7 separate regions of the Homo sapiens genome follow, and regions 1, 2, 3, 4, 5 and 7 are each linked to region 6. Evidence: promoter capture Hi-C in 16 types of primary human blood cells and fetal thymus (Javierre and others, 2016). All regions are on one chromosome and are shown on one strand. Each heading gives the region's core, a stretch centred on a gene start or on the middle of the fragment in contact. The rest is flanking DNA. Distances are from core to core; before and after follow the strand shown. Region 1 overlaps CLMP (CXADR like cell adhesion molecule). Region 2 holds the start of SNORD14D (small nucleolar RNA, C/D box 14D). Region 3 has its middle 40 kb from the start of TRK-TTT2-1. Region 4 has its middle 17 kb from the start of SNORD14E. Region 5 has its middle 37 kb from the start of UBASH3B. Region 6 holds the start of CRTAM (cytotoxic and regulatory T cell molecule). Region 7 has its middle 23 kb from the start of TRK-TTT2-1.

Evidence for each region. Contacts are between HindIII fragments. The CHiCAGO score rates a contact against its expected background, and 5 or more counts as called.
Region 1: a fragment that was not itself captured here is called in contact with the fragment with the promoter of CRTAM in region 6 in 2 of 17 cell types (total CD8 T cells and naive CD8 T cells); the score reaches 11.2 in total CD8 T cells.
Region 2: a fragment that was not itself captured here is called in contact with the fragment with the promoter of CRTAM in region 6 in 2 of 17 cell types (total CD8 T cells and naive CD8 T cells); the score reaches 15.8 in total CD8 T cells.
Region 3: a contact is called between a fragment that was not itself captured here and the fragment with the promoter of CRTAM in region 6, in 6 of 17 cell types (megakaryocytes, activated CD4 T cells, erythroblasts and 3 more). The highest score is 7.5, in megakaryocytes.
Region 4: a contact is called between a fragment that was not itself captured here and the fragment with the promoter of CRTAM in region 6, in 1 of 17 cell types (naive CD8 T cells). The highest score is 5.5, in naive CD8 T cells.
Region 5: a contact is called between a fragment that was not itself captured here and the fragment with the promoter of CRTAM in region 6, in 2 of 17 cell types (megakaryocytes and endothelial precursors). The highest score is 11.4, in megakaryocytes.
Region 7: a contact is called between a fragment that was not itself captured here and the fragment with the promoter of CRTAM in region 6, in 3 of 17 cell types (naive CD4 T cells, fetal thymus and total CD4 T cells). The highest score is 5.7, in naive CD4 T cells.

Annotation. Positions count from the first base shown.
Region 1 is chr11:123,085,280-123,088,309 of GRCh38, forward strand. The region is part of intron 2 of CLMP (CXADR like cell adhesion molecule); the gene reads right to left. Among named protein-coding and RNA genes, the nearest start is that of HSPA8, 25 kb to the left of the region's middle. The HindIII fragment of the contact is 2,767 bases long and covers 337-3,030 here.
Region 2 is chr11:123,058,146-123,060,920 of GRCh38, forward strand. It overlaps HSPA8 (heat shock protein family A (Hsp70) member 8), which reads right to left. Exons shown (of 9, transcript NM_006597.6): 3 at 2,448-2,653; 4 at 1,971-2,123; 5 at 1,328-1,883; 6 at 914-1,116; 7 at 487-685; 8 at 107-339. SNORD14D (small nucleolar RNA, C/D box 14D) reads right to left here and starts at 850; the gene lies at 764-850. It overlaps SNORD14C (small nucleolar RNA, C/D box 14C), which reads right to left and starts at 1,277; the gene lies at 1,190-1,277. It overlaps SNORD14E (small nucleolar RNA, C/D box 14E), which reads right to left and starts at 11; the gene lies at 1-11. The HindIII fragment of the contact is 172 bases long and covers 1,230-1,401 here.
Region 3 is chr11:122,598,374-122,601,377 of GRCh38, forward strand. No RefSeq gene overlaps it. Among named protein-coding and RNA genes, the nearest start is that of TRK-TTT2-1, 40 kb to the left of the region's middle. The HindIII fragment of the contact is 2,966 bases long and covers 1-2,919 here.
Region 4 is chr11:123,039,305-123,042,513 of GRCh38, forward strand. No RefSeq gene overlaps it. Among named protein-coding and RNA genes, the nearest start is that of SNORD14E, 17 kb to the right of the region's middle. The HindIII fragment of the contact is 6,954 bases long and covers 1-3,209 here.
Region 5 is chr11:122,617,117-122,620,111 of GRCh38, forward strand. No RefSeq gene overlaps it. Among named protein-coding and RNA genes, the nearest start is that of UBASH3B, 37 kb to the right of the region's middle. RefSeq lists an enhancer at 1,416-1,916. The HindIII fragment of the contact is 3,297 bases long and covers 1-2,995 here.
Region 6 is chr11:122,836,563-122,839,884 of GRCh38, forward strand. CRTAM (cytotoxic and regulatory T cell molecule) reads left to right here and starts at 1,938. Exons shown (of 10, transcript NM_019604.4): 1 at 1,938-2,030. The coding sequence starts at 1,985. The HindIII fragment of the contact is 4,925 bases long and covers 1-2,295 here.
Region 7 is chr11:122,581,230-122,584,164 of GRCh38, forward strand. No RefSeq gene overlaps it. Among named protein-coding and RNA genes, the nearest start is that of TRK-TTT2-1, 23 kb to the left of the region's middle. The HindIII fragment of the contact is 6,967 bases long and covers 1-2,935 here.

The sequences.
Region 1 (3,030 bases), core at 470-2,969, 250 kb after region 6:
GCTCCGTCACCCAGGCTGAAGTGCAGTGGCACAATCTTGGCTCACTGTAACCTCCGCTTCCTGGGTTCAAGCAGTTCTCCTGCCTCAGCCTCCTGAGTAGCTGGGATTACAGGTGTACACCACCATGCCCGGCTAACTTTTGTATTATTGGTAGAGACAGGGTTTCGCCATGTTGGCCAGGCTGGTCTTGAACTCTTGGCCTCAGGTGATCCACCCTCCTTGGCCTCCCAAAGTGCTGGGATTACAGACATGAGCCACCACGCCTGGCCTGCCTTCCATTCTATTCCTGAATAAGAAATAAGATAGCTACAAAGATAAAAAAAAAAAAAAAAAAAAAGCTTACAGTACTCCTGCACAATTTGCCCACAAGGTGACTGCTTGTGGACAAAGGACAGACAGAACTCACAGTTACCCCTCTGCACACATGAGATAAATGCATATCTGATTGCTTCCTTTGCCCTATTTCACTAAGCCGAACTAATTTTTTATGTTTTTTTTTTTTTGTTTTTTTTTTGAGATAGAGTCTCACTCTTGTCGCCCGGTCTGGAGTACAATGGTGCGATCCTGGCTCACTGCAACCTCTGTCTCCTGGGTTCAAGCAATTCTTCTGCCTCAGTCTCCTGAGTAGCTGGGATTACAGATGCATGCCACCATGACTCGCTCATTTTTGTATTTTTAGTAGAGCTGGGGTTTCTCCATGTTGGCCAGGCTGGTCTTGAACTCCTGACCTCAGATGATCTGCCTGCCTCAGCCTCCCAAAGTGCTGGGATTACAGGTGTGAGCCACTGCGCCTGGCCCTAATTTTTTATTTTAGTAGAGATGGGGTTTCACCATTCTGGCCAGGCTGGTCTCAAAGTCCTGACCTCAGGTGATCCACCCTCCTCGGCTTCCCAAAGTGCTGGGATTACAGGTGTGAGCCACTGCGCCTGGCAAATCTCTTCTTTGGTTCAAGTGATTTATAATCAAGTGAGATTAACAAGGAAAGACTATTAAACAGAGAAAAAGAAATGATTTATTTGAAATAGTATCAAGGAGAGTGTCCCAGACAAGTTGGTGGCATTTGAGCTAGGCTTTGAGAGGCAAGGAGAAAAGGCCTGGAGGGAGCATTCCAGCTACACAGAAGGGCACTAAAAAAGGCATGCAAGCATATGGGCATCTCCCAGGCACATTTCAGCTGCAGCTGTTCCAAATTGTTTCACTCAAGCCCTCAACCCTGCCTTTGATCACGTGTTGCTCCACAGCTCTTCAGAGCCTTTCCTGAGAAGGTTCTCTCAATCAGATAAAACCTATGAACTCTGACCCAGAAAAAACTCACATATTATTTTGCAGATAATTCCATGGGGTTCCTAGCACTCAAGGGAAAGCCCTCTGCTTTAGGCACAGATGGGGAAGAGCTAGGATCACAGCCCTTCTCCTGGATGTGGTACTTGTTTGTTCTAAATATTTGTGGGGGCCAGATGCGTGGTGGTTCACGCCTGTAATCCAAGCACTTTGGGAGACCAAGGCTGGTGGTTTGCTTGAGCCCAGGAGGTTGAGGCTATAGTGAGCCAAGACTGCGCCACTGTACTCCAGCCTGGGTGACAGAGTGAGACCCTGTCTCAACAAATAAAATTTAAAAAAAGAAAAAAATGTAACTGGGTGCGGTGGCTCACAACTGTAATCCCAGCATTTTGGGACGCCAAGGCAAGCAGATCACTTGAAGTCAGGAGTTTGAGACCAGCCTGGCCAACATGGTGAAACCCTGTCTCTACTAAAAAATACAAAAATTAGACAGGTGGCCTGACGTGGTGGCTCACGCCTATAATCCCAGTCCTTTGGGAGGCCGAGGTGGGCAGATCACCTGAGGTTGGGAGTTCAAGACCAGCCTGACCAACATGGTGAAACCCCGTCTCTACTAAAAATACAAAATTAGCCGGGCGTGATGGCGCATGCCTATAATCCCAGCTACTCGGGAGGCTGAGGCAGGAGAATTGCTTGAACCCGGGAGGCGGAGGTTGCAATGAGCCAAGATCACGGCATTGCACTGCAGTCTGAGCAACAAGAGCGAAACTCCGTCTCAAAAAAAAAAAGAAAGAAAGAAAAAACTAGGTGTGGTGGTGTGCGCCTGTAAACCCAGCTACTCAGGAGGCTGAGGCAGCAGAATCACTTGAACCTGGGAGGCAGAGATTGCAGTGAGTGGAGATTATGCCACTGCACTCCAGCCTGGGCAACATAACAAGATTCTGTCTCAAAAAAATAAAATGAAATAAATAAATATTTGCGGCTCGGTGCAGTGGCTCATGCCTGTAATCCCAGTACTTTGGGATGCCGAGGCGGGTGGATCACGAGGTCAAGAGATCGAGACCATCCTGGCCAATATGGTGAAACCCTGTCTCTACTAAAAATACAAAAATTAGCTGGGTGTGGTGGCATATGCCTGTAGTCCCAGCTACTAAAGAGGCTGAGGCAGAAGAATCGCTGGAACCCAGGAGGCAGAGGTTCCAGTGAGCCAAGATCATGCCACTGCACTCCAGCCTAGGGACAGAGTGAGACTCTGCCTCAAAACAAGACAAAACAAAACAGAAAAATGTTTGTAGGGTGTTGTTGGCCCCACATCCTGTTGTACTCTGTAGGGTAGGTTTCGTTTTGTTTCTTTTTTTTTTTTCTTTGAGACGGAGTTTCACTCTTTTTGCCCAGGCTGGGGTGCAATGGCATGATCTTGGCTCACCACAACCTCCGCCTCCCGGGTTCAAGTGATTCTCCTGCCTCAGCCTCCTGAGTAGCTGGGATTACAGGCATGTGCCACCAGGCCCAGCTAATTTTGTATTTTTAGAAGAGATGGGGTTTCTCCACGTTGGTCAGGCTGGTCTCGAACTCCTGACTTCAGGTGATCTGCCCGCCTCGGCCTCCCAAAGTGCTGGGATTACAGGTGTGAGCCACCATGCCCAGCTGGAAGGGTAGGTTTCTTGGCAGGTGATAGAGCTGACTTAGTAATGCAAAATTGCTGGGATAGTTGGAAAAGAAGGAAATGCGTTCACAACAGGAAAAAAC
Region 2 (2,775 bases), core at 66-2,565, 220 kb after region 6:
CCATTCATCATTGTGACCCTACACTGAAATCCAGCTCAAGCTTGGTTTACCATCCCCTTCCCCTCCATTGAGTGGGGGAGGAAAAAAAAAAAAAAAAAACACAAACCTGATTCTTATCAAGCCAGTTGATAATTTCATTACACTTGTCCAGAATCTTCTGTTTGTCCTCATCGTTAATCTTGCCTTGAAGTTTCTCATCTTCAACAGTTGCTTTCATGTTGAAGGCATAGGACTCAAGTGAATTCTTGGATGACACCTTGTCCCTCTGCTTCTCATCTTCAGCTTTGTACTTCTCAGCTTCCTGGACCATACGTTCAATGTCTTCCTTGCTCAAACGGCCTAGGAAAGAAATTAACTCTAAGTAAAAGCCTTAAATTACCTGTGTATGTGTAACTCTAGTTTCTCTTAGCTAGACGCCCTTAGGCACCAGTAACTCAATTGAAATACCATTATCCCTGTCAAGACCAGATGACAGTGCCTCCTTACCCTTGTCATTAGTGATAGTAATCTTGTTCTCTTTTCCCGTACTCTTGTCCACAGCAGAGACATTGAGTATACCATTGGCATCAATGTCAAAAGTGACTTCAATCTGAGGAACACCTCGGGGTGCAGGAGGTATGCCTGTGAGTTCAAACTTGCCAAGCAGGTTGTTATCCTTTGTCATGGCACGCTCGCCTTCATAAACCTTGGTAGGAAATAAAACAAATTACTACAATGGACTCCAGGTCTGTGACAGTGCTAGGGTCCTGCTAAGGAAGAATGGTCGCTCAAACATCCAAGGAAGGAACTGGCCAACATAAGACTTTCTGGTGGAAACTACGAATGGTTTTGGAATCCATCATCATAGCGAGTCAGTCAAGACTTCCCTTTATCTGTTATCAGTAAGCCAAACAAGAGAAGTACAGAAACATACCTGAATAAGCACACCAGGCTGGTTGTCAGAATAGGTAGTGAAGGTCTGTGTCTGCTTGGTAGGAATGGTGGTATTACGCTTGATGAGGACAGTCATGACTCCACCAGCAGTTTCAATACCAAGGGAAAGAGGAGTGACATCCAAGAGCAGCAAATCTTGAACATTCTCAGACTTGTCTCCAGACAAGATGGCTGCCTGGACAGCTAGCAAACAAAAAGTTAACGTTAAAAGAAGTTAAAAGAAAACCCAGTACATAGCTCCTGTTTTAACTATCACTCGCTCAGACATCCAAGGAAGGTGTTGCCATCATTAGCCAAGCTTTTGGTGGAAACTACGAATGTTTAACAATCACTCATCACAGCGAGTCACCTTGGGCCTGCCTGCCTTTAGGGTTAATTGAGATACCATTGTTACCTGCACCATAAGCAACAGCTTCATCAGGGTTGATGCTCTTATTCAGTTCTTTTCCATTGAAGAAGTCTTGGAGAAGCTTCTGAATCTTGGGGATACGAGTAGAACCACCAACCAGGACAATATCATGAATCTGTGACTTGTCTAGTTTGGCATCTCGAAGGGCTTTCTCTACTGGGTCCAGGGTGCCACGGAACAGGTCAGCATTCAGTTCTTCAAATCGGGCACGGGTAATGGAGGTATAGAAGTCGATTCCTTCATAGAGAGAATCGATCTCAATACTGGCCTGGGTGCTGGAAGAGAGGGTACGCTTAGCACGTTCACAAGCAGTACGGAGGCGTCTTACAGCTCTCTTGTTCTCACTGATGTCCTTCTTATGCTTGCGCTTAAACTCAGCAATAAAATGGTTGACCATTCGGTTGTCAAAATCTTCTCCACCCAAGTGGGTGTCTCCAGCTGTAGACTTGACCTCAAAGATTCCATCCTCAATAGTGAGGATTGACACATCAAAAGTGCCACCTCCCAGGTCAAAGATGAGCACGTTTCTTTCTGCTCCAACCTGCCGTTAAAAACAATCTCATTTAAATTTACGATGGATCAAATTAATCTTAAAATAATCCGAACTTGCATCACAAATGGTACATACCTTTTTGTCTAAGCCGTAAGCAATAGCAGCAGCAGTTGGCTCATTAATAATTCTAAGTACATTGAGACCAGCAATAGTTCCAGCATCTTTGGTAGCCTGACGCTGAGAGTCATTAAAGTAAGCTGGCACTGTGACCACAGCATTGGTAACAGTCTAGGAATAAGGAAAAGACCACAGATTGGTAACTATTATACTTACATATATGCAAACTCCAGCAAATGGATTAATGCTGGTGAAAGAACAGCTGGAGCACCCCCCCCACCAAAATGTAAATTACTGTGTAATTGTCAAGATTCACTGGTTTCTGGTGTTGACAGACCCATCTACCTAGAGAGCCTAGGGCACTGTTGGGCACGTGGTCTTAACCCTGAGCTGAGCCCCATCTGTTCCCCTCCCTCGCCAGGTGCCAGTGCCCCCGGGAGTCATCGGGCTTTTAACTACTCCGGAATGCACCCCATACTGAAAAACCAACCTCACCTTCCCAAGGTAGGCTTCTGCAATTTCCTTCATCTTTGTCAGAACCATAGAAGACACCTCCTCTGGATAGAAGCTTTTGGTCTCTCCCTTGTATTCTACTTGGACCTTGGGCCTGCCAGCATCATTCACCACCATAAAGGGCCAATGTTTCATATCAGACTGGACAACAGCATCATCAAATCTGCGTCCAATCAGACGTTTGGCATCTGTAAAAGGTGTCAAATGAAAACACTTTCAATTTCATAGCTCTTCTGATAAAACTCAAGTCCATGATTACTCAAATACCTAACAGTTCATAGGTAGGTGAATTCAACTACCATATAGGTAG
Region 3 (3,004 bases), core at 187-2,686, 240 kb before region 6:
TTGGAAGCTCAGCTGAAGACCATGGGAATGCATGGAAACTTGTGGAGGGGAACCACTGCAGGTTTGCAGGGAACGGGGTTGGTGGTGAACTCCACCTACCCATGGAACAAGAACTGCTTACAGTGGTCACACACCAAGTGCCCACTTAGAGCAAGACCCTCTAAAGCACTTTACATTGAGTGTTTCTAATGGTCACTACACACCCCCAATATGAAGGGTGTATTGTTATCCTCATTTTTCATATTAAAAAATAGGCCAGGCGCAGTGGCTCATGTCTGTAATCCCAGCACCTTGGGAGGCCGAGGCGGGTGGATCATCTGAGGTCAGGAGTTCAAGACCAGCCTGGCCAACATAGTGAAACCCCATCTCTACTAAAAATACAAAAAATTAGCAGGGTGTGGTGGCAGGCACCTGTAATCCCAGCTCCTTGGGAGGCTGAGGCTGGAGAATCGCTTGAACCAGGGAGGTGGAGGTTGCAGTGAGCCCAGATCAAGCCATTGCACTCCAGCTTGGGCAGCAAGAGTGAAACTCCACCTCAAAAAAAAAAAAAAAGCTGGAGCTTAGAGAAGATTAGCAACCCAGCCAAGTTTATTTACAAGTAAGCTGGAAAACCAGCATTCATTCACTGAACAAATGTGGAGTCAGCACCTACAGCATAGTAGGTGCCGGAGAGTCAGTGGAGAATGAACGAGAACAGCAATATCCACACTCATGGGGCTTATAGCCCAGGAAGGACACAGAGAAGGGAACAGCCACACTGGAGTTTGGGAAGCGCTGTGCTGGTGGAGGCACAGTGTCTGTGAGTCATAGGGGAACAACCAACCCAGACATGGGGGTTGTCTGCTTGGCTTCACAGCCTCCCATTCTTATTGACACTGAACCTTTCAGGAAGAAAGCCAGTGTGACCTCAGATAATCTCCCCAGAGCACCTAATAACCTTCTCTCTGAGCCTCTCTGCAGAAGAGCTTCAAGTTCAAGTTGTATAAGCCTTCAAGTAGAAAGAAGCAATTTTGTCTCTAGGTTTGGGCAACACAAGTACCTGGGGAAGGGCATAGTTAAGCACACTGAATGCTTAAACTTTTATTTGTCTACTAATAAGTTGATAAATTGCACCTGGCATATAAATTTCACTTGGGGAACTCATGCAATGTGGCAGAAGGATTCCCTTCTCTTAATTACAAAGAATGAGTCCTCCAGCACAGAAACATCCCCCAGGAGATGCCCACAGTGTAGCAATGGATATTTTTACCTCTCCACACCCACATTCCACCATATTTCTCAGGGATGCTGTTCCCCTCCTGATCCCTCCCACCACCTTCTATGGCATCACATGTCCTTTAGCTGAGAAGGCAAATGCACCCTTTTACAACAAACCCCTGTGAAGTTCTCCCCTTCCTTTTTCCCTCCCTAAGTTTCCCCCCATGACCCCCTCCTCTTTTATGTCTTCCCTAATCCTAACCACCTTCCTCATTCTGCTTTCCCTGGCTTGTACTTTTTGTAGCTTTTTTTTTTTTTCTCTTTTTCATCATCTTCAATAAAATCAATCCAAAGGGGAGGTAAAAGACAGGCTGAAGATACCATTCTGCTTCGCTTATGAACAAGGGGCCTGTCTTCCGTCTCAATGAATCACAAACTTGCTGCACACTGAAATCACCTTGATCTTTAGGAAACCCTGGTCCTGACTCCCACCCCAGACTTTCTGGTCTGATGGGAAGGGGTGCAGCCCGGACATCAGGAATTCGAAAAGGTCCCAGGGTGATTCTAATGTGCACCAAATCTGGGGGGCTGCTATGCAGTTCTGCTTCTCACATGGGCACCCACATTAGATGTGGCCTTCTGAATGGCAGACCTGGGCATTTGGGGTCAATGGAGGTCCATTTTTAAGATTCACAGCCAGGCTGATCCCTTCAGAACAGAGCCCTTGTCCCTTTTGCCAGTCTCTAATTCAGACTGTCATCCTGCAGAGAATATAAAAACAAGCACGGTTAAGTAAAAGCTAGAAAGAGCCCTGAGCTGCTCAGCAAAAAAAAAAAAAAAAAAAAAAAAAAAAGACCTTAACTAATGATTACATTAGTCTGTCAAGCACAATCTTGAAGCCAATTTATTATATATACAGGAGATGTCAACTTCAGTCAAAACTCTATCATTCTCTGTAACAGCTCCTCTTCTGGAAGGCAGAAGTGGAATCTATACTCTAAAAGTGATCTAGCTGGAGCCCAGGAAGGTGGAAGCCTTGTCCTAGGGTCATACGGTCAGTTTATGGTGGACCCAAACCAAGGAGAATTCAGGTGATCTATGAAAATGGTCAGAGCCAAGCATGGTGGTTCATACCTATAATCCCAGAACTTTGAAAGGCCAAGGCGGGAGGAGTTTGAGACCAGCCTGGGCAACATGATGAGATGCCGTCTCTACAAAAAAATAAAATAAACAAAAACTAGCTGGGCCTAGTGGCATGTGTCTGTAGTCCTAGCTACTCAGGAGACTGAGGCAGGAGGATCACTTGAGCCTGGGAGGTCAAGGTTGCAGTGAGCTATGATTGTGTCACTGTACTCCAGCCTGGGTGACATAGCAAGACCTGGTCTCAAAAAAAAAAAGAGAGAAAAAAGAAAAAAGAAGGAAGGAAGGAAGGAAGGAAAGAGGCAGGGAGGAAGGGAAGGCAGGCAGGCAGGAAGGAAGGAAGAAAAGGACTTAGGCAAATCAAAATTGACATCAAATTCTACTGACATTATTAGTATCATATTAATAAATCACTACTATCACTAATTTTACAGTCATAACTTCATTTGGCTCTAATACTACCCATAAACAAGAAAATGATGATGACTTCTAGACAGCATCTCTCCATGCTTGTATTAACCTCCTCCATCTCTACCATGGTCCCTGGAGTATCTGACTGGGTTTCCTGATGATGATACCACAAGCTTTTTGCTGAAAAGTGATGTATTAGCCTGAGTGATTGGGTGGTCCTTGAGAACAGCCACGAGAGTATGCAAGGTCATTTGGT
Region 4 (3,209 bases), core at 693-3,192, 200 kb after region 6:
TAGGGGTTCAATAAATGTTCACCAGGCCAGGCACGGTGGCTTACGCCTGTAATCCCAGCACTTTGGGAGGCCAAGGCAGATGGATCACTTGAGGTCAGGAGTTTGAGACCAGCCTGGCCAACATGGTGAAACCCTGTCTCTACTAAAAATACAAAGAAAAAAAAAATTAGCTGGGCATAGTGGCATGCGCCTGTAATCCCAGCTACACAGGAGGTTGGGGCAGGAGAATCACTTGAACCTTGGAGGCAGAGGTTGCAGTGAGGGGAGATCATGCCACTGCATTCCAGCCTGGGCGACAGAGCGAGACTCTGTCTCAAAAAAAAAAAAAAAAGAAAAAGAAAAAAAAAAGAAATTCACCAAATGCGTCACCGTATCCGGGGGTCAGAAAGCATAAGGACACCCAGGAATGAAGTCATTTGCCCAAGGTCACCATGCCACATGGCTACTTCGAAGCAGACCTTATAAATCTCCACAGTGTGGGTGCCCTGGAAGTCTCTCGTGCCCTAAGTGTTTAGATGATACCTGACTGAGCATAAGTCCTGGGGAGAAAGATTCAATCAAAGTTCCAAATCTGATTCTATTCCAGCCAGAGCTGAGTGAGTGTCTGTCTCTCCTTTTCCCTGGGCCTGTCACAATCTCAACAAATAGGCTTTTAAATTAAGTAGTGATTTGGAATGTAAGTGAGTGCATTTAAGATGATAAGAGACGGAGAGATCCTAATGGCTGAAATATTTGTCATATCACAAGTAAACGGAGTGTTTCGGGGAGTCACTAATATAACTAATTTTTTCCAAATCCTCCTCTGCTCTGTGTGGGAAGATGAGGTCAGTGCAGGTTGAGCCAGCCCGGAGTGAGCAGCTGCCAGGGGACTGAAGAGAATACTGATGGATGGCTGAGGCGCCCGGACAGTTCGCCTCAGGAAACCAGAGCCCACTTGTTCAAATTAAGCTATGGATGCCCAACAACCGGTGGCAGGCTGCCACGAATGAAAAGGTGGGGAAATGAATGCACAGCCCAGCCCGCCTCCCCCGGAGAGTGGAGCTGTGCTGTCGGTTTGGGCTTGGCCCCTATGCTGGGGGGTGTCTGAAAGGAAGCTGGAAGTAATCTAACGCAGCTCCCTCCTCCTCGCACCCTGACACCCCATTCTTGAATATCCTCTGCAGCAAGCCCAAATCATTTTAGTCAGACCTCTTGTTGGTGGCTCCTGGAGCCTGGTATCTCACTACCTCCGTGGCAGCCCACTTTCCTTGGCAGATCCCAGAGGTATATTCGGCACTCACTGTCCAAAATGAATAGCCCCCTCAGTTAGGCTTGGTGTCTCGAGTGTTTAGGCTTACAGCCAAAACCCAAGTTCCAGTCTTTTATTTATTTATTTATAAATTTTAAGTTGTCTATTATTTATTTATTTATTATTTTTATATTTATTTATTTTTGAGAAGGAGTCTCACTCTGTCGCCCAGCCTGGAGTGCAATGGTGCGATCTCGGCTCACTGCAACCTCCGCCTCCCGATCAAGTTCCACTACCACATTTGCTCTGCAGCCTTCAGGCAGAAACAATACCTTTGCTGAGACGCCTTCTTCGTTTGTAAAAATGGGAATGACATTTGCACCATGGCTTTTCACAATGGCAAGTGCTGGTGGAAAGAGAGAACTGGTCATTTCACCTGAACCTCACATTAATTTGGGGCCTTAAGTTTAGATTTTGACATTATCTTAAAATAAATACACATTCAGGCCAAGCACGGTGGCTCACACCTGTAATCCCAGTACTTTGGGAGGTCAAAGTTCCCAAAATCCTCCCATGTTTGGGAGGCTGGTCAGAAGTTCAAGATCAGCCTGGCCAAACATGGTGAAATTGTCTCTACTAAAAATACAAAAAATTAGCCGGGTGTGGTGGCACGCGCTTGTAATCCCAGTTACTCAGGAGGCTGAGGCACACGAATCGCTTGAACCCGGGAGGTGGACTTGCAGTGAGCCGAGATTGTGCCATTGCACTCTAGCCTGGGCGATAAGGTGAGACTGTCTCTCTCACACACACACACACACACACACACGCACACACACACACACACGCACACACACACACACACACACTCAGCCAAAGAGAAATACTGATAAGACTAAAAGGAAATGATCACCCAGGAGCAGTGGCTCATGCCTATAATCCAAGCACTTTGGGAGGCTGAGACCAGTGGCTTGCTTGGGCCCAAGAGTTCCAGACCAACCTAAGCCACATGTCAAAACCCCATCTCAATTAAAAAAAAAAATAGGAGATGTTCCTCGTTGGAAATGTATGAGTCATTTTTGGGCCACCCCTTCTGCAGCACACACTAATGGGATTTTTAAAATACATTTTTGTCTAGGACGAGTATTTAGCATTGCATTTTTTAGGTAGTTTGTTTGTTTGTTTTAAGACAGCGTCTCACTCTGTCATCCAGGCTGGAGTGCAGTGGTACAATCACAGCTCACTGTGGCCTTGACCTCCTGGGCTCAAGCCATCCTTTCACCTCAGCCTCCCGAGTAGCTGGGACTACAGGCACATGCCACCACATTTGGCTAATTTTTTAAACTTTTTGTAGAGATGGGCTCCCACTATGTTGAACTCCTGGGCTCAAGTGATCCTCCTGCCTGGGCCTCTCAAAATGCTGGGATTACAGGCAGGAGACACCATACTTGGCCAGCATTGCGTTTTTGTTTACTTTTTAAAAATTTTTTTGTAGAGATGGGATCTGGTTTTCTGCCCAGGCTGGTCTCAAACTCCTGACTTCAAGTGATCCTCCTGCCTCTTCCTCCTAAATTGCTGAGATTACAGGCATGGACCACCATACCTGGCCAGCATTGCATTTTTTTTTTTTTGAGATGGAGTCTCGCTCTGTCACCCAGACTGGAGTGCAGTGGCCAGATCTTGGCCTCCCCCCGGTTCACGCCACTGTCCTGCCTCAGCCTCTCGAGTAGCTGGGACCACAGGCGCCCACCACCACGCCCGGCTAATTTTTTGTATTTTTAGTAGAGACAGGGTTTTACCGTGTTAGCCAGGATGGTCTCGATCGCCTGACCTCGTGATCTGCCCGCCTCGGCCTCCCAAAGTGCTGGGATTACAGGTGTGAGCCACCACGCCCAGCCCAGCATTGCATTTTAAAAAGCATTCACTCTTCAGAGAAATGTGAGAAAAAAAGAAAGAAAAATAAATAAGTAAATAAAATAAAAGC
Region 5 (2,995 bases), core at 212-2,711, 220 kb before region 6:
GACCAATGGTTCCATGTCCAGCCTCCAGAATCAGACAGAACTGGGGTCACACCCTGGTATCACCCCTTCCTGCTGAGTCTGTCTCCCCAGCAGTGAAAGGAGGGTAATATTCCTCCTACAGAGGGTGGGGTGGTGGGGAGTTTACATGAGGCGGGTGCGTGTCTGTACAAACGTGTTTATCATTGCCAGCCACTTTTTTTTTTAATAGACACGGGGTCTCACTGTGTTGTCCAGGCCAGTTTTGAACTCCTGAACTCAAGTGATTCTCCTGCCTCGGCCTCCCAAAGTGCTAGGATTACAGATGTGAGCCAGCACACCTGGCCACAAGCTGCTTTCATGCAGGTGTCAGATACGCTCTCCTAACAGTGGAAGGTGGTTTGATCCTTTCTTCTCACACACACAGTCATAAATGAGTCATCAGAGTTACCCCAAAGGCAAATGGTGATATCTCCCTACAGGGAAAACTAGCACAGAACTTATGGGCCTCATTGAACTGTTAGCTGGGTTGGTTGGACAGAAAAATGTTGGTTCAATTTTCAAATACTAAGGAGCTCTTATTTCACGAGTCCCTTTTCTTACGTTGTTGAGGGGAGGCGTCAGAGCACACACTGGGAGAATAGGCCAGGGAAGCAGGCAGTGGTCACGCAGTACATCTTGCACGTGGTGGAGCATGCCGCCATCTTTGCCTTCGCCCTGGCCGACCTCTCCGTTTAATGGGGAGGTGAACTTGGACATGGACAACGACCAGGCTCCGTCAAGGGGGTTTCCTTACCAGGACTCCTTTCTCGTTTCTTTTCTCTTGCAATATGGTCATGGGGCAAAAACCCCAGAGGCCACATACTGTATTTGTGGAAAGAGAAAGAACAGGACTGTAGAGCCAAAGCTACCTCACTAGCTTTTGTGAAAGTCAGGCTGGAAAGTGCTTCCAGCCACAGAAACAGGCTGTGGGTGTAAATATTAACCGTGGCCATCAAAGAAGTGGGCATAGAGTATGACTCGCCCTCTCTTGGTCTTCCCTCAAATAGCAGGGTGAAGAACTCCTGGTCTGTGTCAGCCACGTGGCTCACAAAAACAATGACACAGAGGAGGGAATGGTGGGACTGGCCAAGGGTACGGCTGTCTTCCAGCCGTTTATCTCTGAGTGTCCTGTGTCCTGAGCAGAGCAAGGTGCAAGGCCCTGTACCGGGCACCCAGCAGAAACTTCTGAGAAACTTGACTATGAGGAAGGATGCTTGCCTAGCAATTGGTCAGATGAAGGGCTACGTTTGATACTTCCTTCAGTGTGGAAGGAAGAAATTTGTAAAAACTATTTCCAGAATATGCACACATTTAAAGTTTATAAACCTGAACTTTCCTTAGTAGAAGACACTTAACAAGAGAATACTATTGGCTCTGGGCACTAACCATTTGGGCTGTGGGACCCAGGGAATCTCTCTAGTAAGCATCATCTTTAGTGGGTGACTCCTGGTGGTCCTCCCAGCTCTGGTGGTGCCATGGGGACCTGCCTTGGAGATGCCTTGGTACTGGTACCTTTTGTGTACCAGGCCGTGAGCCTAGGGCACAGGGCCTCTGGCCTACAGATTTCAGGGAGGCAGCTGTGTCATGTGAACCAATACGGCCTGCCAACAATTCTGTCCAGAGTGACTGTCGTTGTCATCGTTAGCGTGTTGCCTGAAAAGCCTTGGGGTCTGGGGGCTGACACTGAAGCTCTTTTTTCCCTCTGGCCCTGTGATGTCCAGCATTACCCAGAACGCCATGCAGGACCAGAGCGCCACAGCCGGGACTCCCGTGATGGCTGGGGGGGCTGTGGCTCCGACAGGAGGATGAGCGAGGGCCGGGGGCTGCCTCCTCCCCCCAGGGGCAGACATGACTACTCGGGGGACCGTGGCTGAAGAGAGGATGACTGAGCATGGCAGGGCACAGCTGATGGGGGCATGATGGACAGGGATCACAAGAGATGGCAAGGTGGTGAGAGAAGCATGTCCGGTCACTCCGGGCCTGGCCACATGATGAACTGAGAAGGGATGTCAGGGCTCGGCAGCTTTGCCTCAGGCGGGGCCTCCCGGGGCCACCCCATCCCACACGGTGGTATGCAAGGCGGGTTCGGAGGCCCGAGCAGGGGGAGCAGGCCCATCAATGCCCGCTTCACTCGCCGCTACCGAGTACTTGGAATCCTGTGTCCTGTCACGTGGCAACAAGGCTATGTTCTGTTAGGAGTTATCCTAAACTGTCTAAAAATATTTTTCTTTAATCTGCTGCCATATTGTAGCTCAATACAATGTGAATTTGTTTTTCATTTTGGGTTTTCTTTTTTTTTGTAATAAATGTGTTTCTGTTCACATACCCTTTAAAAAAAAAAAAGACTTGCATCCAGAATCTATAAACTCTTACAACTCAGCAACAAAGACAAATAATCTTAGTTTGAAATGGGCAAAAATTTTGAATAGATATTTCTCCAAGGAAGGTATACAGTCAGCTGAAATTGCATTAAAAGACATGCAACAACATTACTCATCAGGGAAATGCAAATCAAAACCACTATGAGATATTTCTTCATAAGCACCAAGACAGCTATAATCAAAAAAGACACACAATAATAAGCGTTGACAAGGATATAGACAAATTGGAACCCTCATACATTACTGGTAGGAAAGTGAAGTGGTATAGCCTCTTTGAAAAATAGTTTTGCAGCTTCTTCAAAAGTTAAACGTAGAGTTACCATATGGCCCAGCAATTCCACTCTTAAGTATATACCCAAAAGCACTGAAAACCTATATCCACACAAAAACTTATTCAGGCATGTTCATTACAGCATTATTCATTATACCAAAATGCGGAAATGACTCAAAGGTTCATCAATTGATAAACTGATAAATAAAATGTGGTATATCCATACAATGAAATATTATTCAGCCATAAAAAGGAATGAAGTACAGGTTAAGTTATCCCTTATTCAAAATGCTTGGGACCAGAAGTATTTCAGATTTCAGATTTT
Region 6 (3,322 bases), core at 688-3,187:
AGCTTCAGAGTTGCTCCACCTCAAGGCAAGGGAAAAGGACCTTGAGACCCCCTCATGGATGCCCTATGGAGGAAGAGTGACCCTGGGTAAACTGTTCTCTTCTACTGAGGACAAGTATAAAAATTAGAAGTTCCTGGATGGAATATTATGAGCAAAAGGGAAAAAATTAAAAAATGAAAAATTTGAAAGACAAAATATTGTGTTTTGGAGGATTTTTTATTTTTATTTTTTTAAGACAGGGTGTCACTTTGTCACCCAGATTGCAGTACAGTAGTGTGATCACGGCTCACCGCAGCCTCAACCTCCTGCATTCAAGCAACCCTTCCACCTCAGCCTCCCAAGTATCTGGGACTACAGGCATGCACCACCATGCTCAGCTAATTTTTGTATTTTTTGTAGAGATGGGGGTCTCACTATGTTGCCCAGGTTGGTCTTGAACTCCTGGCTTCAGATGATCCTCACACCTCAGCCTCCCAAAATGCTAAGATTACAGGCATGAGCCACTGTGCCCAGCCAACAAAATATTTGGAAGACATTTTTGATGAGTAAGACTTTTCCTACCCAAACTTCATCAAATTTATCAGAGTATTAACACTAATTTCAATTAGAGCCAGTAAGTAGTGTTTCCTTTTCATTTTCCAAGCATTGCAGACTGATCTCTGTTTTCTAAACATAAACTTACTAATATTTTACTGTGTGCTCCTGGAAAAACTACATTAAATCTATCTCAATTTGTCCAATTAATGAAAATTAAATACCAGAACTGTTCATATGTACATTGTCTCCCCCACTAGATTATATTCTCCTGAAAAACAAGGAATTTATGTTTTTTATTTGAGCATGTCTCAAAGTAGTGCATACTAGATGCTGTACAGGTGACAAGATGAATGGGTGGATAGAAGGATGGATGGATGGATGGATGGATGGATGGATGGACGGACGGACATATGTATAGATAGATGGGTGGGTAAATGGATGAATGAGTGGGTGAATGGATGAATGCGTGGGTGGATAGATAGATGGGTGGTTGGGTGGATGGATGAGTATTTGCATGTATAGATAGATGGGTGGGTGAATGAATAGGTCATGGACGGATGGATGGATGGATAGATGGATGGGTGAATGGATGGATGGGTGGATAAATGGATGGATGGATGGATGGATGGATGGATGGATGGATGGATGGATGGATGGATAGATGGATAGATGGATGGATAAATAGATGGATGGCTGGCTGGCTGGATGGATGGAGAGATGGATGGATGTGTGGATGAATAGATGGATGGATGGGTGGATGGGGAATGAGTGGGCAGGTAATACATGAGTGAGTGGGTGGATGGAAGGATAAATGGATGGGTGGATGGATGTGTGGGTGGATGGATGGAAGGATGGATGGATGGATAGGTGGATGAATAGATTTGTATTTGTGAGTGGGTGGATGAAAAGATGGGTGGATGGGTGGGTGGACAGATATATAGATTTCAAAAATGAGTATATCTATATGAATGAATGAATTCCTCCCCGACAACAATTATAAATTGATGTCAGCATAGAAATAAAATATTCCCAAAGGTTGAGCAAAAATTATCTAATTGTATTTATCTAATAAACTAGAAAAGTAAAAATAAGGATGACGTCACTACACAGGGACATTTTACAGTATTTCTCCCACCCATGCTCCCTCTAAAAACCTTGCAACTAGTTGATTTACCAGTACTACCCACTTGTGGTAAAACAATTTTTGTCACCAACACATCACTCACACCTCTCTGCCATCAAGATAATACATGTGGTCCCCAAAATGTTCCACCAGGAGGTGTTCTGGGGGCAGCTAACTAAGAGGGGGCTTCCAGACAGATGGAGGAGTTGATACACATGAGGTCACAGATCTACTGCCTCTCCCCCTTTAAAAGAAACTACTCAGCTCCATTTGTCTCAGAATCTAGAGGAAGTTGACAAAGGTGCCACAGCAGCACAGCACAGTATGTGGTGGAGAGTTCTCAGCTTGCTGGCATGGTTCCCCTTGCAAGGTAAGGACTTAGAGTTATTTTTGTTGTTGCTCAGCTGACTTAATGTTTTGCCACATCTACCTATCAGTCAGTCAACTGCATTTACAGAGGAGCTGCTGTAGAAGACAACCCAGGTAACTGCTAATACTTTCCAAGCCATGCTCAAATCATGCATCTGAGGGATGTTACTGCGTTTATTTGATCTCTCGTTCAATGGCTAAGGAGTATAGAAAGGATCATTATAGTGTGTGTCTCTGTGGGTCCTATGTTACGGCAAGATGAAACAAGCTTATTAGGCTCTGTCTTTTAAGGGCATACCAGTTGAAAGAGCATCCGTATTGAATTTTATTTTATTTTATTTATTTATTTATTTATGAGACACAGTCTCGCTCTGTCGCCCAGGCTGGAGTGCAGCGGCACGACCTCGGCTCACTGCAAGCTCCGCCTCCCGGGTTCACGCCTTTCTCCTGCCTCAGCCTCCCAAGTAGCTGGGACTACAGGTGCCCGCCACCACCACGCCCGGCTAATTTTTTTATATTTTTAGTAGAGACGGGGTTTCACCGTGTTAGCCAGGATGGTCTCAATCTCCTGACCTCGTGATCTGCCCACCTCAGCCTCCCAAAGTGCTGGGATTACAGGCGTAAGCCACCGCGCCCGGCCTCCACGTTGAATTTTAAAATTTCCTTGCTGTATAAATCTTAGCCAAACGATTTAATCTCTTTGAAACTCAGTTTCTGCATCTTAAAATGAAAATGATAAAAACTTTTGATCCACCAAACTCCCTGGATTGTTAGAAGGATCAAATTTCAAATGTGAAAGCACTTTGAAAATGATAAAGCGCTGTGCAACACTTATTTAGCTCAGAGGTAATAATGAGACCAATGAAAACTTCGTGTTTATTTTTAAAGAGTAAGTTATACTTTACATTTTACTATAATTTTCAAATTTGGATTTTAGTGCTTAATCCTAATGTAGCATTATGAAAATTAAGGATAGAAGCAGTTACCTTTTTGGAGCAGGTCAAATTATTTTCTACCCAAAAGTGGGGGCAGGGGTGTAGGAAGTGGCTCCTGTTGTCCCTCAGTCTCTGCTTACAATTGTATCAGATTCATGCAAAGGACATCCCTCACAAATCCACTCAAAAATTTTGCTTTTTGTGTGTTTGTTACCAAATATTGAAACTGTAGTTCTGTTTCATGAAATGCACCTATCCTTCTAAATCTACATTTAATCTGGAATGGCATCTGAAGGACGCTACTTTAAAAAACTCGATTTCCTATTTTACATAGTACTTCAATTCCCTATTTTATATA
Region 7 (2,935 bases), core at 357-2,856, 260 kb before region 6:
CGCCATACTGCCACCCAGTGGTGTGAACTGTTTCTTTCCAGACTTAATGCAAACAAAACCCTTCTTTTTATGCTTCTGATGGTGGCTGAGATCTTCCTCTCAAAGAACTACATTACACAGTACTGCTTGCTCCTACCAGTACCTGACACGGGTGTCAGGCCCAACCACGTGCTCGGTGTATTCATAGACCTTAGTCACGGAAGCACAGTCTTGTCCGGATGCACAGCATGTGAGCACTTGCTCTCCAAACTTACCATCTTCCAGCTCCGGTTAATACAGCAGACCATTCATGCGTCTAGGAACCAAAGAATTACCCTAGGGCCCTGCTATTATTTGGGCAAGAGACTCATAATGACCTTACTTGACTGGCTGCATAAAAAGTCCCAAATCTTCCTGCCATTCCTTTCTCGTCTTGGCCTCTGGGCCGGGAGCACAAAGCCTAGGAAAGGACCCAGGGACAGAAAAAGGAAATATCGAGGTACTGTTTTCCCCCTACCTCCTCAGCTTGGCCTAAGGAAATTTTCAGAGTAACTGAGCTAAGCTCCAGCATCCTCTTCTCTTCTGATATGGTTAGACTTTGTGTCCCCAACCAAATCTCATCTTTTTTTTTTTCTTTTCAGCCACTCAGAGAGATATGTATAACCTCTCTCTTTTTTTTATTTTTATTTTACTTTAAGTTCTGGGATACATGTGCAGAACATGCAGGTTTGTTACATAGGTATACATGTGCCATGGTGGTTTGCTGCACCTATCAATCCATCATCTAGGTTTTAAGCCCCGCATGCATTAGGTATTTGTCCTAATGCTCTCCCTCCCCTTGCCCCCCACCTCCTGACAGCCATGGGTGTGTGATGTTCCCCTCCTTGTGTCCATGTATTCTCATTGTTCAGCTCCCACGTATGAGTCAGAAGATGCCCTGTTTGGTTTTCTGTTCCTGTGTTAGTTTGCTGAGAATGATGGTTTCCAGCTTCATTCATGCCCCTGCAAAGGATATGAACTCATTCTTTTTTAAGGCTGTATAGTATTCCATGGTATATATGTGCCACATTTTCTTTATCCAGTCTATCATTGATGGACATTTGGGTTGGTTCCAAGTCTTTGCTATTGCAAATAGTGCTGCAATAAACATACATGTGCATGTGTCTTTATAGTAGAATGATATATAATCCTTTGGGTATATACCCAGTAGTGGGATTGCTGGATCAAAGGGTATTCCTTGTTCCAGACCCTTGAGGAATTGCCACACTGTCTTCCACAATGGTTGAACTAATTTACACTCCCACCAACAGTGTAAAAGCATTTTTGTATCTCCATATCCTCACCAGCATCTGTTGTTTTCTGACTTTTTAATGATCACCATTCTAACTGGCATGAGATGGTATCTCATTGTGGTTTTAATTTACATTTCTCAAATGACCAGTGATGATGAGCTTTTTTTCATATGTTCGTTGGCCGCATAAATGTCTTCTTTTGAGAATTGTCTATTTATATCTTTGCCCACTTTTTGATAGGGTTGTTTGTTTTTTTCTTGTAAATTTGTTTAAGTTCCTTGTAGATTCTGGATATTAGACCTTTGTCAGATGGATAGATTGCAAAAATTTTCTTCCATTCTCTAGGTTGCCTGTTCACTCTGATAATAGTTTCTTTTGCTGTACAGAAGGTCTTTAGTTATATTAGATCCCATATGTCAATTTTGGCTTCTGTTCCAATTGCTTTTGGTGTTTTTGTCATGAAGTCTTTGCCCATGCCTATGTCCTGAATGGTATTGCCTAGGTTTTCTTCTAGGGTTTTTATGGTTTTAGGTTTTACATTTTAGTCTTTAATCCATCTTGAGTTAACTTTTGTATAAGGTGTAAGGAAGGGGTCCAGTTTCAGTTTTCTGCATATAGCTAGCCAGTTTTCCCAGCACCATTTATTAAATAGGTGCTGGGAAAACACCTATTAAATTATTTCACCATTGCTTGTTTTTGTCAGGTTTGTCAAAGATCAGATGGTTGTAGATGTGTGGTGTTATTTCTGAGGCTTCTATTCTATTCCATTGATGTATATATCTGTTTTGGTACCAGTACCATGCTGTTTTGGTTACTATAGCCTTGTAGTATAGTTTGAAGTCAGGTAGGGTGATGCCTCCAGCTTTGTTCTTTTTGCTTAGGATTGTCTTGGCTATTTGGGCTCTTTTTTGGTTCCATATGAAATGTAAAGTAGTTTTTTCTAATTCTGTGAAAAAAAAAGTCAATGGTAGCTTGATGAGAATAGCAATGAATCTATAAATTACTTTGGGATGTATGGTAATTTTCATGATACTGATTCTTCTTATCCATGAGCATGGAATGGTTTTCCATTTGTTTGTGTCCTCTCTTATTTCTTTGAGCAGTGGTTTGTAGTTCTCCTTGAAGAGGTCCTTCACGTCCCTTGTAAGTTGTATTCCTAGGTATTTTATTCTCTTTGTAGCAATTGTGAATGGGAGTTCACTCATACCAAATCTCATCTTGAATTGTAGTCCCCATGATTCTTACATGTCAAGGGAGAGACCACGTGGAGGTAATTGGATCATGGGGGCAGTTTCCCCCATGCTGTTCTTGTGATAGTGAGTTCTCATGAGATCTGATGTCTTTGTCAGTGTTTGGTAGTTCCTCCTGCACTCATTCTCCTTCCTGCCGCCTTGTGAAGAAGGTGCCTTGCTTCCCTTTCCCTTCCACCATGATTGTAAGTTTCCTGAGGCCTCCCCAGCCATGCTGAACTATGAGTCAGTTAAACCTCTTTGCTTTATAAATTACCCAGTCTCAGGCAGTTCTTTATCAGTGTGAAAATGGTCTAATACACCTTCCTCTTGTGTTTTTCTTCTGCTTCCCAGAGCACCTCTCTTCTAAACTGGGGAATTTGACAATCCTGAGTTCAAATTCAGATGAACTCCCCCGATAGCTGGGTGACATTA